Linked DNA regions of Homo sapiens: all the other regions are linked to region 3. The links are contacts of gene promoters, found by promoter capture Hi-C in blood cells and fetal thymus (Javierre and others, 2016). All regions are on one chromosome and are shown on one strand. Each heading gives the region's core, a stretch centred on a gene start or on the middle of the fragment in contact. The rest is flanking DNA. Distances are from core to core; before and after follow the strand shown. Region 1 overlaps NCOR1 (nuclear receptor corepressor 1). Region 2 overlaps CENPV (centromere protein V). Region 3 holds the start of NCOR1 (nuclear receptor corepressor 1).

The links. Contacts are between HindIII fragments. The CHiCAGO score rates a contact against its expected background, and 5 or more counts as called.
Region 1: a contact is called between a fragment that was not itself captured here and the fragment with the promoter of NCOR1 in region 3, in 1 of 17 cell types (endothelial precursors). The highest score is 7.1, in endothelial precursors.
Region 2: a fragment that was not itself captured here is called in contact with the fragment with the promoter of NCOR1 in region 3 in 11 of 17 cell types (M2 macrophages, M0 macrophages, total B cells and 8 more); the score reaches 12.8 in M2 macrophages.

The regions. Positions count from the first base shown.
Region 1 is chr17:16,070,562-16,074,778 of GRCh38, forward strand. NCOR1 (nuclear receptor corepressor 1) reads right to left here. Exons shown (of 46, transcript NM_006311.4): 28 at 2,868-3,008; 29 at 1,584-1,667; 30 at 848-1,104. Among named protein-coding and RNA genes, the nearest start is that of TTC19, 73 kb to the left of the region's middle. The HindIII fragment of the contact is 1,028 bases long and covers 1,078-2,105 here.
Region 2 is chr17:16,343,732-16,347,798 of GRCh38, forward strand. It overlaps CENPV (centromere protein V), which reads right to left. Exons shown (of 5, transcript NM_181716.3): 4 at 866-980. Among named protein-coding and RNA genes, the nearest start is that of CENPV, 7.7 kb to the right of the region's middle. The HindIII fragment of the contact is 3,711 bases long and covers 445-4,067 here.
Region 3 is chr17:16,214,180-16,218,604 of GRCh38, forward strand. It overlaps NCOR1 (nuclear receptor corepressor 1), which reads right to left and starts at 1,355. Exons shown (of 46, transcript NM_006311.4): 1 at 1,183-1,355. It overlaps PIGL (phosphatidylinositol glycan anchor biosynthesis class L), which reads left to right and starts at 3,031. Exons shown (of 7, transcript NM_004278.4): 1 at 3,031-3,282. The coding sequence starts at 3,048. RefSeq lists enhancers at 151-1,067, 1,068-1,983, 1,561-1,620, 2,807-3,056 and a silencer at 821-1,290. The HindIII fragment of the contact is 4,024 bases long and covers 1-2,918 here.

The DNA.
Region 1 (4,217 bases), core at 342-2,841, 140 kb before region 3:
TCATCTGGCTACTTTTCTATCTCAGGTCTATGTCTGGCCCATGGCAGTTACAGTTCACTGTGGTGATCTTTTTTGGTCTGTTTACAAATCTCAATCACAACCCCACTGATCCCAAGCTGCATACTTTCCCACATTCCACACTCTATGCTATAGACATAAGAAAACCTGATGATAAGAAGTACACAAGGCCAGGCATGGTGGTTCACACCTGTAATCCCAGCGCTTTGGGAGGCTGAGGTGGGCAGATCACCTGAGGTCAGGAGTTCGAAACCAGCCTGACCAACATGGAGAAACCCTGTCTCTCCTAAAAATACAAAATTAGCCAGGCGTGGTGGCAGGTACCTGTAATCTCAGCTACTCGGGAGGCTGGGGCAGGAGAATCGCTTGAACCCAGGAGGCGGACGTTGCAGTGAGCCAAGATCGTGCCATTACACAAAGGCCAAGCACAGTGGCTCACGCCTGTGATCCCAGCACTTTGGGATGCTGAGATGGGCAGATCACTTGAGCTCAGGAGTTCGAGACCAGCCTTGGCAACATGGCAAAGCCCTGTCTCTATAAAAATACAAAAATTCTGGGTGTGGAGGTACATGCCTGTAGTCCTAGCTACTCGGGAGGCTGAGGTGGGAGGATCGCTTGAGCCCAGGAGGTCAAGGCTATATAGTGAGCTGTGATCACACACCGCACTCCAGCCTGGTCCACAGAGGAAAAAAAAAAAAGGTACAGGAAACTTTCATGTTTACTTCCAGGAGGTCTGACATCATAAGAACCACTTATAATTATTAAGTCACACTTTTTTAAATGTTCCATAAATATCAGTTACTGACAAAAAGAGCCAAAACTTAGTTACCTGGGAAATGGAACCCTCAATTATCGGCCGTGTGCTCTGGACCACTTCTGGAGTTTTCCGACTTTCCTGAGTTAAAATATCTTGCCTTGGAATCTCATGAATGGAACGCCCCATTTCTTTGATGGTGGTGATGCCATCATATGGTTTTCCTTTGGTAATGGCACCTTCAAATGCTCGTATGGGAGGACTTTCCCTTTTAATTTGTTTGGGATATTTAAGGCCATCTTCAAAGCTTTCAGTTGTTGCTCTTGGTGTCCCTTGAAAAAGAATTCAGGAAACATTAAAATAATGCTGATGGTTGCACAACAATGCCACGGAACTGTGCACTTAAAAATGGTTAAAATGGTAAATTTTGTTACATATATTTTAACATAATTTAAAATAATGCCTTGACATCTTGTAGTTTCTAATTAACTTTCTGTTTACAGTAGATCCTCAAATCAGTATTTATCAATCATTATTTCTTTAGGGTTGCTTGAGATATGATATTAATGCATCATTCATAATAGTCACAGAATGGTTCTTGCATAATAAAGATATCTCTATATTAAAAGATTAAGCAACTATCATCTTCCAATAAATTATGTAGCTCAGAGGCAGAAAAGTAATAACCAAGACTTTAATATTTCAAAAGGGAAAATAACTTGAAAAGCAGAAATACACTGTAAATTAATGTCAAACTATTTTGCCAGGGAGGCAGTTATAAATAAAAATGCAAAACAAGCAGAAAGTTTACCCTGCATTATGGAGCCAGACAATACAGTCCTTTCTTTGAGGTCAGAATGAGGACTCCCCCTGGGTAATGCTCGGCATATCAGCCCTTCCAAAACAAGAAAGCAATTCAATTATTCAACATAATGTATATGTCAACTCACATATACTGAATGCTGTTCTTAAAGTCTATGTTTTTGATAAATGCTCTATGAAGGAAGGAATGTCAATTTAAGTTTGTGAACTATCCAGAAGTACCTAATATGACATCACACAGTCCTTTGTAAATATTTTCCTAAATAAAAAATGGCCACCAAAGGCATCTAATGAAAGGTTGAAAAGGAAAGATACCTTCAAAGTTAAATCTAAAATCCCAACACTTCTTTATCAAGAGGAAAGAAGATACAGGATTGGAAACCATTGCTTAGCTTTGAAATATACTTGTGATAAAGGGAAAACGGGAAATATGGATACCATAAAAATAGGGAAAATGTATTAAATGAAACATGCAAATTGAAACGAAAGAGTTGTAAATAACCTCCTAAGAAGCTTCACATTATTGTTGCTGATAAATATAAATCAAGGGTTAGAAATAACCACACATATTTACAGTAAAAGTGTGTGTTTTTAACATAGAGAAAAATACAGCTCTTAGAAAATTACACAGGACTTACCCTGCTTTTAGTATTTCATCTAGCTTAAAATTGGTTGAGGCAGGTTAAGATTTAAACAAAGTGGGCCATTAACAAAACAAAATCATACTGATCATGTACTGAAGCCATATCACATGAGCAGCACCAGTTCAGACACCTGCCTCTAACCCTCACACAGTGTTAGGTACGATCCCTTAATTTACAGAGGAAGAAACAGGCTCAAAGGAATTTTACCAGGGAAGGGTGAAGCTGAAATTTAAATTCATGTCTTTATCCATTACACCACTTTATCTGTCTCACAATTCAAAAAGAAGTTCTCATAATAAACTTTACCTTTTTTAACTCACTTAGCTGAAACAGGAATAATCTGCAAATTGTATGAGCATTCAAATATGAACATTCTAATAGTAACCTATGATATGACCAATTACGCTTAAATTTGACTTCCTTCCATTGTTATGTGCCACTTTATATACAGATATAAACTTAATATAAATATATATTTCAGGTGGAAATGACAGAAATTGCATACAACTTAATATAAATATACATTTCAGGTGGAAATGACAGAAATTGCATACAACTTAATTCAACAATGCAAAATTACTATATAAAATAACATGTATCAAAATAACATTCTGAAAACAATGCTTTACCCTCTAACGGTGCTGATACAGGAGACTCCCTCATTGACATCCCTTGCTTTATATTTCCTTCCACTGATTCATAGCTTCTCTTTAAACTGATTTCATGAGCTGTTCTTGGACTCCTAGTCCCTTCTCGGGCATTCTTAATATCTACAGAATACACAAACAAGACTTGCTCAGACGGAGCACATGGTATACAATGTACAGTAAATAGGTTAGTTTCATAGTCTATCTTATAAAAATAATAATATTAAAACTTGTCTTAACCTACAATAAAATATGTGTAGATGATTCATGAAAATATTTTCACTCATTCAAATGTGTTTATTGATGCCTACTGTGTGCTAGGCATAAGCTAGGCTTGCAGGTAAGATTAACAAATTAAGTCCCTTTCTGCATGAAACTTACACAATAATGTAGGTACAGATTATGTAGTAAAATAAGCTATGAAAGGAGAAGTATAATGTGCTATGAAAATGCTAGGAGAGAAACCTAACACCTCCAGGTTCAGATAAGCCTGCTCAGAGGAAGCAATGTGTAAGCTGAGAATGAAGGATGAATAAGAGTTGTTCAAGTCAAAGGTAATAGGAGGAAAAAGTACAGGCAGTGTGAACAGTGAACACGAAGACCCCAAGGTGAGACAGAGAAAGGTACAATAAAAGAACGTAAGCGTGGTAACCGGCTAATGTGTAGAGTGGAGTTGGGAGGAAGAGTGTGGGGGAGGTAAATATAGGGGACTAAAGGGAAAAGTGAGAAGGGAAAAATGTGAAGAGCTAAGCTGAAAGCAGCTCCTGGAGGGGTTATAAAGCTAAGGTAGGGGTTTGCAGTTATATCCAGGGTGATGGAAAAATCAGTCAAGGAGTGACGTGGTACACACTTTGAATATGGGTGAGACTGAAGGTAGGGAGATGAGTTAGGTGGCTGCTGGGTTAAAGATGATGGTGACAGTGGTGAATACAGAGTAATGGATGGATTCTAGACACTTTAGGAAAATAAACAGAAATGGCTTAGTGATTTGGTGGATGTGGAAAGAAACAGAGGTGTGTAGACTTCTGATATGGACAACGTACATTATTAATTTCTTAACCCCAAAAACAAAATGTGAATCATAATATGCCAGACGTGTAAAGGAGAGTGAAATAAGAATGCTATCAAGCATTTTGCAGCATCTGGCACTATGTACGCACATACTTTATTTCTTTGTATTGGAAGAGAAAGCATAGCTCATGACTACTCCAAGGTCACAGAGTCAGGTGCAAATAAGAACTCAAATTCACTCAAAACTTTGGCTAATATTTCTATCACATTTGAGTCATTCTTATAAAATACTACTACTGAGAAAATATAACAAGAATACAT
Region 2 (4,067 bases), core at 1,050-3,549, 130 kb after region 3:
AGCGGTAAGGATGACATCCTGCCCTGCCCTGCCTCCCCCACCTCCCCTGTCCGCTCCCCACCACCATAAGGCAAAAGACACTGACAGTCATAGCTGCTCTCGCAGCTCTGGAGGCTGCACTGACACAACAAGAGTCCTCAGAACATCTTCCACCTCTGCTTTCCCCTTCAATTCACACTATAGTTGGTATGATTCTCAACAACTGTCAGAGGGTTAGTTTTATTACTCCCCAGACCCAAGCAGGCCCTGAAGCGGGGCTTGGAGGGTTCCCTGCTTGTTTATTATTTTTTAAAAAGAACAGAGATACGGTTTTGCTATGTTTCCCAGGCTGGTCTCAAACTCCTGAGCTCAAGAAATCCTCCCACCTTGGCCTCCCAAAGTGCTGGGATACAGGTGTGAGCCACCGCAGCCAGCCAGTCCTGCCTAATTTTTGAACAACCAAAAAGCTTTCAAATGCCATTATCAATGCTCCCCAATCTTGCCTCCTTCACTCCCTTAACCCCTGTCATTATTAAAGCTGCCTCCCCTGGCCCCACAAGCCCATCTCCTCACCCCTCTCCTCCCTACCCTTCAACACCATCCCCAGCAACACCAGCTCTACCAGCACCAGTGAATAAGAATCACAACCTGGATGGGCTCCAAGTCCAACTTCACCACATTCAGATATGGGATTCAGAAAAGTTTCACCGGAGCCCGACTCACATTCTATCATGTGGAAAGCGCTCTGCTGAGGAGCCCTGTTCCTCTAAGATACGCATGTGACAGGGTCTAGTCAGCATCCCACCTGTCCAAATAAGACTTTAAATGAGAGCACCATGGGCCTCTCTGTGTCCCCCTGAGCTTGCAGTCCATCCCCTTTACTCACCGAAGCCTCCGGGGTTTGATCGTGGAGTATAGAAGCTCTGAACGCCACATCTCTTACAGAAGGTATGCTGGGCTTTGTGAGTATTGAACGTGTAAGTCGTTATGTGCTCAGCTCCCTAGGTGAAAACAGACAAACGGTATTCTTTTTTACAAAGAGATTTATTTATTTAATTTATTTATTTATTTATTTATTGAGACAGAGTCTCCCACTGTCTCTCAGGCTGGAGTGCAGTGGCGCAATCTTGGCTCACTGCAACCTCCACCTGCATGGGTTCAAGAGATTTTCCTGCCTCAGCCTCCCAAGTAGCTGGGATTATAGGCGCGTGCCCCCATGCCCAGCTAATTTTTTGTATTTTTAGTACAGACAGGGTTTCACCATGTTGGCCAGGTTGGTCTCGAACTCCTGACCTCATGATTCACCCACCTTGGCCTCCCAAAGTGCTGGGATTACAGGTGTGAGCCACTGCGCCTGGCCCCAAAGACATTTATTTTTATGTCACTTAAAAAATACACCTTTGTAGCCGGGTGTGGTGGCAGGCGCCTGTAGTCCCAGCTACTCGGGAGGCTGAGGCAGGAGAATGGCATGAACCTGGAAGGCCGAGCTTGCAGTGAGCCGAGATCATGCCACGGCACTCCAGCCTGGGCAACAGAGCGAGACTCCGTCTCAAAAAAAAAAAAAAAAAAAACACCTTTGGCCAGGCATGGTGGCTCATGCCTGTAATCCCAACACTTTGAGGCCGAGGCAGGCGGATTGCTTGAGCCCAGGAGTTCAAGACCAACCTGGGCAACATGGCAAAACCCTGTTTCTACAAAAAAATATAAAAATTAGCCAGGTGCAGTGGCACACATCTGTAGTCCCAGCTACCTGGGAGGCTGAGGTAGGAGCATCAGTTGAGCCTGGGGAAGTAGAGGCTGCAGTGGGCTGAGATCGCACCATTAAAAAAAAAAATCTTGAAATAACTTAATGGCAGGAGCTCTTCTGTAGGGCTCTTTGTACTAAGAGGCCATTTCCTATCTCCAGAAGAGACTGGGACCTTCTTGAGGACAGAGACCCATCTACACTATCCAGAGACATGTCAGTCTGGAGCGTGACAGCTCACAGCTTCCCTTAGGTCAACGGCATACAGAATTCAGCCTTGAGCCTTCCCTGATACATCACATCAGGGAGGGAAAGTGCTTGCTTCCCAGGGCCTATGTGGAGAGACAGTTCACCCAAGGGACTGGCTCTCCATGTCCCCAAACAGAACGGCTCAAGGTCTTAAGAAAACTGATGGCTGTGCTTAATTTATCCACAAAGGACAAACCAGGAAAAAAATATTTGCCAGACGTCATAGACAGGCTAATTTCCTTAATGGATAATACAAACGGGAGACTGGACAAAGGACATGAACGGACAGTTCAGATAGAAAGAAAAATAAATCACTCTTTAGCCTATGAAATGCTCACCAAAGGAACTTCAATGAGATGTATTTCACTGTCAGGTGGGCAAAATCAAAGCCGTTAACATGGTATTGACAAGTATGTAGAGAAATATGTGCTCACATATATCAGTCACAGGAACAGGAATTGGTACAATTTAGCAACATCTACCAAAATTTTAAAGTGTACATATGCTTTAGCACACAATTCCATTTCTTGAAATTTATTATACAGATATATTCCAAATGTCTCAATGACATAGGTATATAGATACTATAGCACTGTTTATGAAGGCTAAAGATTGGAAAAATTGAAAATGTCCCTCAATAGAGGACCGGTTAGGCATTATGGACACTCATAAAATGAAATATTCTCCAACTTTTGAGAAGAATGAGACAGCTCTACAAAACTAACATGGAACAATTGCCAAAGTTACAAAGTAAAGCAAGGTATAGGCCAGGCGCAGTGGCTCACGCCTGTAATCCCAGCACTTTGGGAGGCCAAGGTGGGCAGATCACTTGAGGTCAGGAGTTCAAGACCAGCCTGGCCAACATGGTGAAACCCTGTCTGTACTAAAAATGTAAAAATTAGCCAGATGTGGTGGCGGGCACCTGTAGTCCCAGCTACTCAGGAGGCTGAAGCAGGAGAATCACTTGAGCCTGGGAGGCGGAGGTTACAGTGAGCCGAGATCACACCACTGCACTCCAGCCTGGGCAACAGAGTGAGACTGTCTCAAAAAAAAAGTTAAGCAAGGTATAAAACAACGTACGTGGTATGCTACCATTTCTTTTTTTTTTTTTAAGGCTATATACTGGTATGTGTGGTGTTTTTGTTTTGTTTTGTTTTGTTTTTTTGAGACAAGATCTCACTCTGTTATCCAGGCTGGAGTGCAGTGGTATGACGACAGCTTACTGCAGCCTTGACCTCCCAGGATCAAGTGATTCTCCCACCTCAGCCTCCCGAGTACCTGGGACTATAGGCATGCAACACCACACCTAGCCGATTTTTTATTTTTTGTAGACATGGGGGTCTCGCTATGTTGTCCAGGCTGGTGTTGAACTCCTGGGCTCAAGTGATCTGCCTGCCTTGGCCTTCCAAAGTGCTGGGACTACAGGCATGAGCTACTGTGCCTGGCCTGTATGTGCTTTTATATGCATATGTATCTTTGAAGAGGGATCCAAGAAACAGTGGCTTACCTTTAGGGAGAGAAATCAGACAGCTGAAGGGGAAGGGGTGGAGGTTTCTTATCCTTGTTAACCCTCTTTACGCTTCCCCAGCCATACCGTCCAGAATTGTGCTTCCTATAGAAATAGCTCCCTGAGGAGCCTTGCTCACTCCATAGCCACTGCAGCACAGAAAAGCAGCGAAGGACTGCCAAGTGGTCCCAAGCCATCCAGCATTATCTGGATGGAATTAAAGCCCCGCCCAACCCCACATTACCCATAATGTGCTAAAAGTCTTTTTTAAAAAATCTGTATTCTTTAACCTGGAGATTTTCTTTCTCTCTTTTTTTTTAACTGCTCCTTGTAGAGCAGGGTGTAGGAAGTGTGCCCAGAATAGCCAGAGAACTTATTTCTAAGAGAATTGATCCTAAAGAAGAAATTTCTAAATTGTCAAAAATGTATACCAAGGAGGTTCACCAGTGTTGTTGATAATCAGAAAAAAACGGGACTCAACTGCAATGATGCAGAGACAGTGATGGGGTAAGTAGACCAGGAAATCGGCTGTGGGGAAGAGGGAGACTGGGGCATGGGGACAGTAGGGAAAGATTTTTCACTGTGTAT
Region 3 (4,425 bases), core at 105-2,604:
AGTACAAGTTGGTTCATCCAATAAATATCTTCATGAAAAGGTACATCAAAACATTTTAAAAAGCTATTAAAAATTAAACGATGCCATCAACTCTTCAGTTATCCACAGGACAATCACATGTGACCCAGCATCAGCAGCTATTGATCAAGATATATTGAACGAATGAATGAATCTTTGTAGGCATTTTTAAATCCCGGGCCTGTTGCTCCTTGCACAGTGCCATGTTCAGCCTTCCATCACTGCCTCACCAGGGTGCACACAAGGAATGTAAATTTCAATATAATTAGGATATAATTAGAGAAGCAAATCTGATGCAGGTTTACATACTAATCCCAAAGATTAGAATTACCTATACTACTACTCTCCAAGGTTAACTCTGTGGAAGAGGCACCGCAGCATGCAACATCACATAAAGAAAACTGACACTTCCTGAGCAAATAGTTTTCGTCCATATCACTTATTCCCATCCATTCCTTTAATACATGACTATTCCTGATCCAGTTAATTTGAAGAATTCAGTCTCCTCTCCATAAAGGCTGATTTCACAACTACAGTTTCTCAAATTCCTCTCTCCCCAAAAAGGGGTGCACTTACGGACTTCGCTTAAGAAAACACCAACAATAAACGGCAGAAGGTATAGTGTTCGGATCTTTGCCATCTCCACCAGTACCCAGCCTTCGCCATTACACCCTGAAGCGGTCTGTTAGAAAGGTGAACTAATTTACTCTGCACGCACTTGTCCATGGCTGTCAACCTCCGCAGCCCCTTCTACACTTCCAAGTCGGCCACCAACTCCGCCTCAGTGAGCCCAGGCCCGCCACCTGCGCCGGCCCCACCCGGGGCACCGGCTGCCCGCTCTCCCTCGCAGGCCCTGTAGGCTCCGCACGCCCCTCCGCACAGGACACCTCGGGGCCAGCCCCGGCCCGGCCACAGCCCATTCTTCCTCCAAACTCCATAAGCCTCCGCTAGCCCAGCCCGAGCTCCCCGCCGCGCCCGGCTCTCTCCTGGGCTGCCGAGTGGAAGAGGCCAGGCGGCCAGGACGGGTCCCGACCTGCCCAGGCCTGCGACACCCCCCGCCCGGCGGAGAAACCGTCCCAGCGGCTGCTGCCCCGGGAGCCCTCGGAAGCCCCCGGACTAGCAGGAGCCCGGAGGCCGGGGTTGCAGGCGCCAGGGCCTACTCACCGGGAGCTGGCTAAGCGTGGGAGCCGACGTGCGCCCCGGCCTGAGGAGTGGGACGCGGCCACGGCGCGCGGCCCTACACCGGGACCTCGTTCGGCGCGGCGAGTCGGACGCTCACTCCAGCCGCCGCCGCCGCCGCGGCTGCTGCTTCGCCACCTTGGCCGCCATCTTGACTCAACCCCTCTCCCTCCCCCCAGCCCGCGGAGCCGCGGCTAAGGCGGCTCCAGCGCCGGCTCCTCCTCCTTCCGGAGAGTTGGGAGACCAACTCCCTCCGCTGGCCGGGCGCCTCTCCTACCTCGGCGGAGCTTCCCGGGTCGCGCTGCGCCCGGTCTCTTCATGTCTCCTCTAGGCCTGGCAGCGGCGGTCCTCTCGGACGGATACGGGGCCGAGCAGCGCCCAGCCGGATCCAGCGCTGCTGCCATCGTGCCCTGGGCTTGTGCGCCCCCCGCCTGCCCGTCTGTTCCGCGCGCCCGAGGCCTTCCTCAGGCGTGGGAAAAGGAAAAACTCCAGGCCGTGGAAGGGACCCTGCAAACCCCTCCGCGGCGTGGTGGGGCGGCGGCGGCCTCCTCTGGCCGGAGCTGCGTACAGGGAAGCCGGTCCCCTCGTGGCTGGGAGCTGGAGGGGTGCATTTCGACCTGCCCAAGATACTTTCTAGGGCTCTGGCTGGAATTCGCACCAAGCCCTCACTGAAATGCTGGGCGAGGCCGATTTGTCCACGATGTTGCTCCTTAACCTTAAGTTACTTGCAAGAGGAGCCTGTGGCCCTCGCGACTGTTAAGTGCACGCTCAGCCTCACCCTGCTGGGGAAACGACGGTTCCTCGTAACCGCACGCATACGTTCCTTTAGAAAAGCCAGGCCCGACCGGACGCAGTGGGTCACGCTTGTAATCCCAGCACTTAGGGAGGCCGAGGCGGGCCATCACTTAAGGTCAGGAGTTCGAGACCAGCCTGACGAACATGGAGAAACCCCGTCACTACTAAAAATACAAAAATTAAGCGGGCGTGGTGGCGCGCGCCAGTAATCCCAGCTACTGGGGAGACCGAAGTGGGAGAATTGCTTGAACGCGGGAGGCTGAGGTAGCAGCGAACCTAGGTCGCGCCACTGCACTCCAGCCTGGGCGACGGAGCCAGACCGTTTCAAAAAAAAAAAAGAAAGGGCCGGGCGCGGTGGCTCAGGCCTGTAATCCCAGCACTTTGGGAGGCCGAGGCGAGCGGATCACGAAGTCAGGAGTTCGAGACCAGCCTAGTTAACATGGTGAAACCCCCTCTCTACTAAAAATACAAAAATTAGCTGGGCGTGGTGGCGCGCGCCTATAGTCCCAGCTACTCGGGAGGCTGAGGCAGAAGAGTCGCTTGAACCCGGGAGACAGAGGTTGCAGTGAGCCGAGATCGCTCCACTGCACTCCAGCCTGGGCGACAGAGCCTCTCAAAAAAAAAAAAAAAGGTAAAGAAAGCCATCCAAAAGTGAGAAGGAATAACAAAGTTGGTGTAACTGGCTATTTTGGAAAACTGTCATACGGATAACGGGCTGTCTAACCCTATAATTACGAGAAAGGCCCGAGTTTTAAGAAATGAATTCGAAAATGAAGAGGAAGGAACTCTTCCTATAAGTGGGAGCTTATATATAAGACGCTTCCTTTTAAACCGATTGTACAGTGTGGTAGGACTAGGGTAGGAAACTGGACGGCATGGAGACTTCTGTGTTAAAACACAAGAGAACCCTTAACGTTAAAACCTCAAGCTTCCGGAGCATGTCGGCGGGAGGGACTTAACAGCGGAACCCAACATTCCCCGGTGAAGTTTTCCAGCCGGAGTCAGGGTCAGAGGCAGCCTTTCCTACTGCGCAGGCTCAGTGCTGCTTACCCATCATGGAAGCAATGTGGCTCCTGTGTGTGGCGTTGGCGGTCTTGGCATGGGGCTTCCTCTGGGTTTGGGACTCCTCAGAACGAATGAAGAGTCGGGAGCAGGGAGGACGGCTGGGAGCCGAAAGCCGGACCCTGCTGGTCATAGCGCACCCTGACGATGAAGCCATGTTTTTTGCTCCCACAGTGCTAGGCTTGGCCCGCCTAAGGCACTGGGTGTACCTGCTTTGCTTCTCTGCAGGTAGGAGGCCATAGGAGGGGCGATGGGAGCCGGGGCTTTGAAAGGGATTTAAGTGCTAACCGATCTCAGTCGCCTTCTTCTCGAAGTTTTCCGTAGGGAGCTAAGTGAATACACCGAAGGTCTTACCTCTGAACCCCTCACAGCCTAGGGACAGGAGCGGCCGGCTTACCTGGTGGGTTGGGGGACGTCGGCAGCTCGCGTACTACGCCAGCAGGATTGAGGAGCAGAGAAACAGTTGCAGTTGGTTGTATTCAGTACCTGCATTTCCGTTGGGAACTCCACCTGTACTTGTTATTCTGTGGAACTTTTTTTTATTTGTAGAAGGAGCAAGAATATTGACCTTACTATATAGCACACGAAACAATCTATGCTGTATCGTGCCTGCTCAATCCTTAAAGTTAACTTCTAATGATAGTAAAAGACCTTCCTGCTGCCTTTAAAATGCAGCTTGTGCTAGTAACATGCATGTGTCAAATTGAAGAATTAGACATAGATGACTAGATAGAAAGTAATTTTGTAGGTAATTTTAGAGTTCAACTCCACCCAGCTTTCAGTGAAGGAACCTTTCAAATAATAGATTTTTGCTTACCATAGAGAAAAGATCAAATGACAAAGCAAATATTGACCATTAAGCTGGAATATGGTGATAATTGAACAGTTGTATAAATGAAGTAATTGAATTGTACACATACAATGGGTGAATTTTATGGCATGTCAAAGTATACCTCAATAAAGCTATTTTTTTAAATTGCCCATGACCTCTTTTCCCATTTGTTTGTGTGTCTTTCCAATTCTTTTTCTATACAGCTTCTTCACAGAAATCACATTTTATAAAATTTTATATCGTTTTTACTCGACATTACTTTTTCATTTATTTACCAAATACTTATTAAACATTTATGTGCTAGGCCTTATTCTATGCCCTAGGGATACAAAAGTGGAAAGCTAGATAAGAGCAGTGTCCTCATGAAACTTTAAACATCTACCTATATTAATTAGATCTAAATGTATAGCCTGTTAAATGGCTTCATCGGGATAAACCTTAATCATCCCTTATTGTTTGTACATTCAGAGGGTTTTTTCCTAGTTTATTGCAAAGAGCAGAGAACATCTTTATGTATTTTATATTATTTCATGAGTATT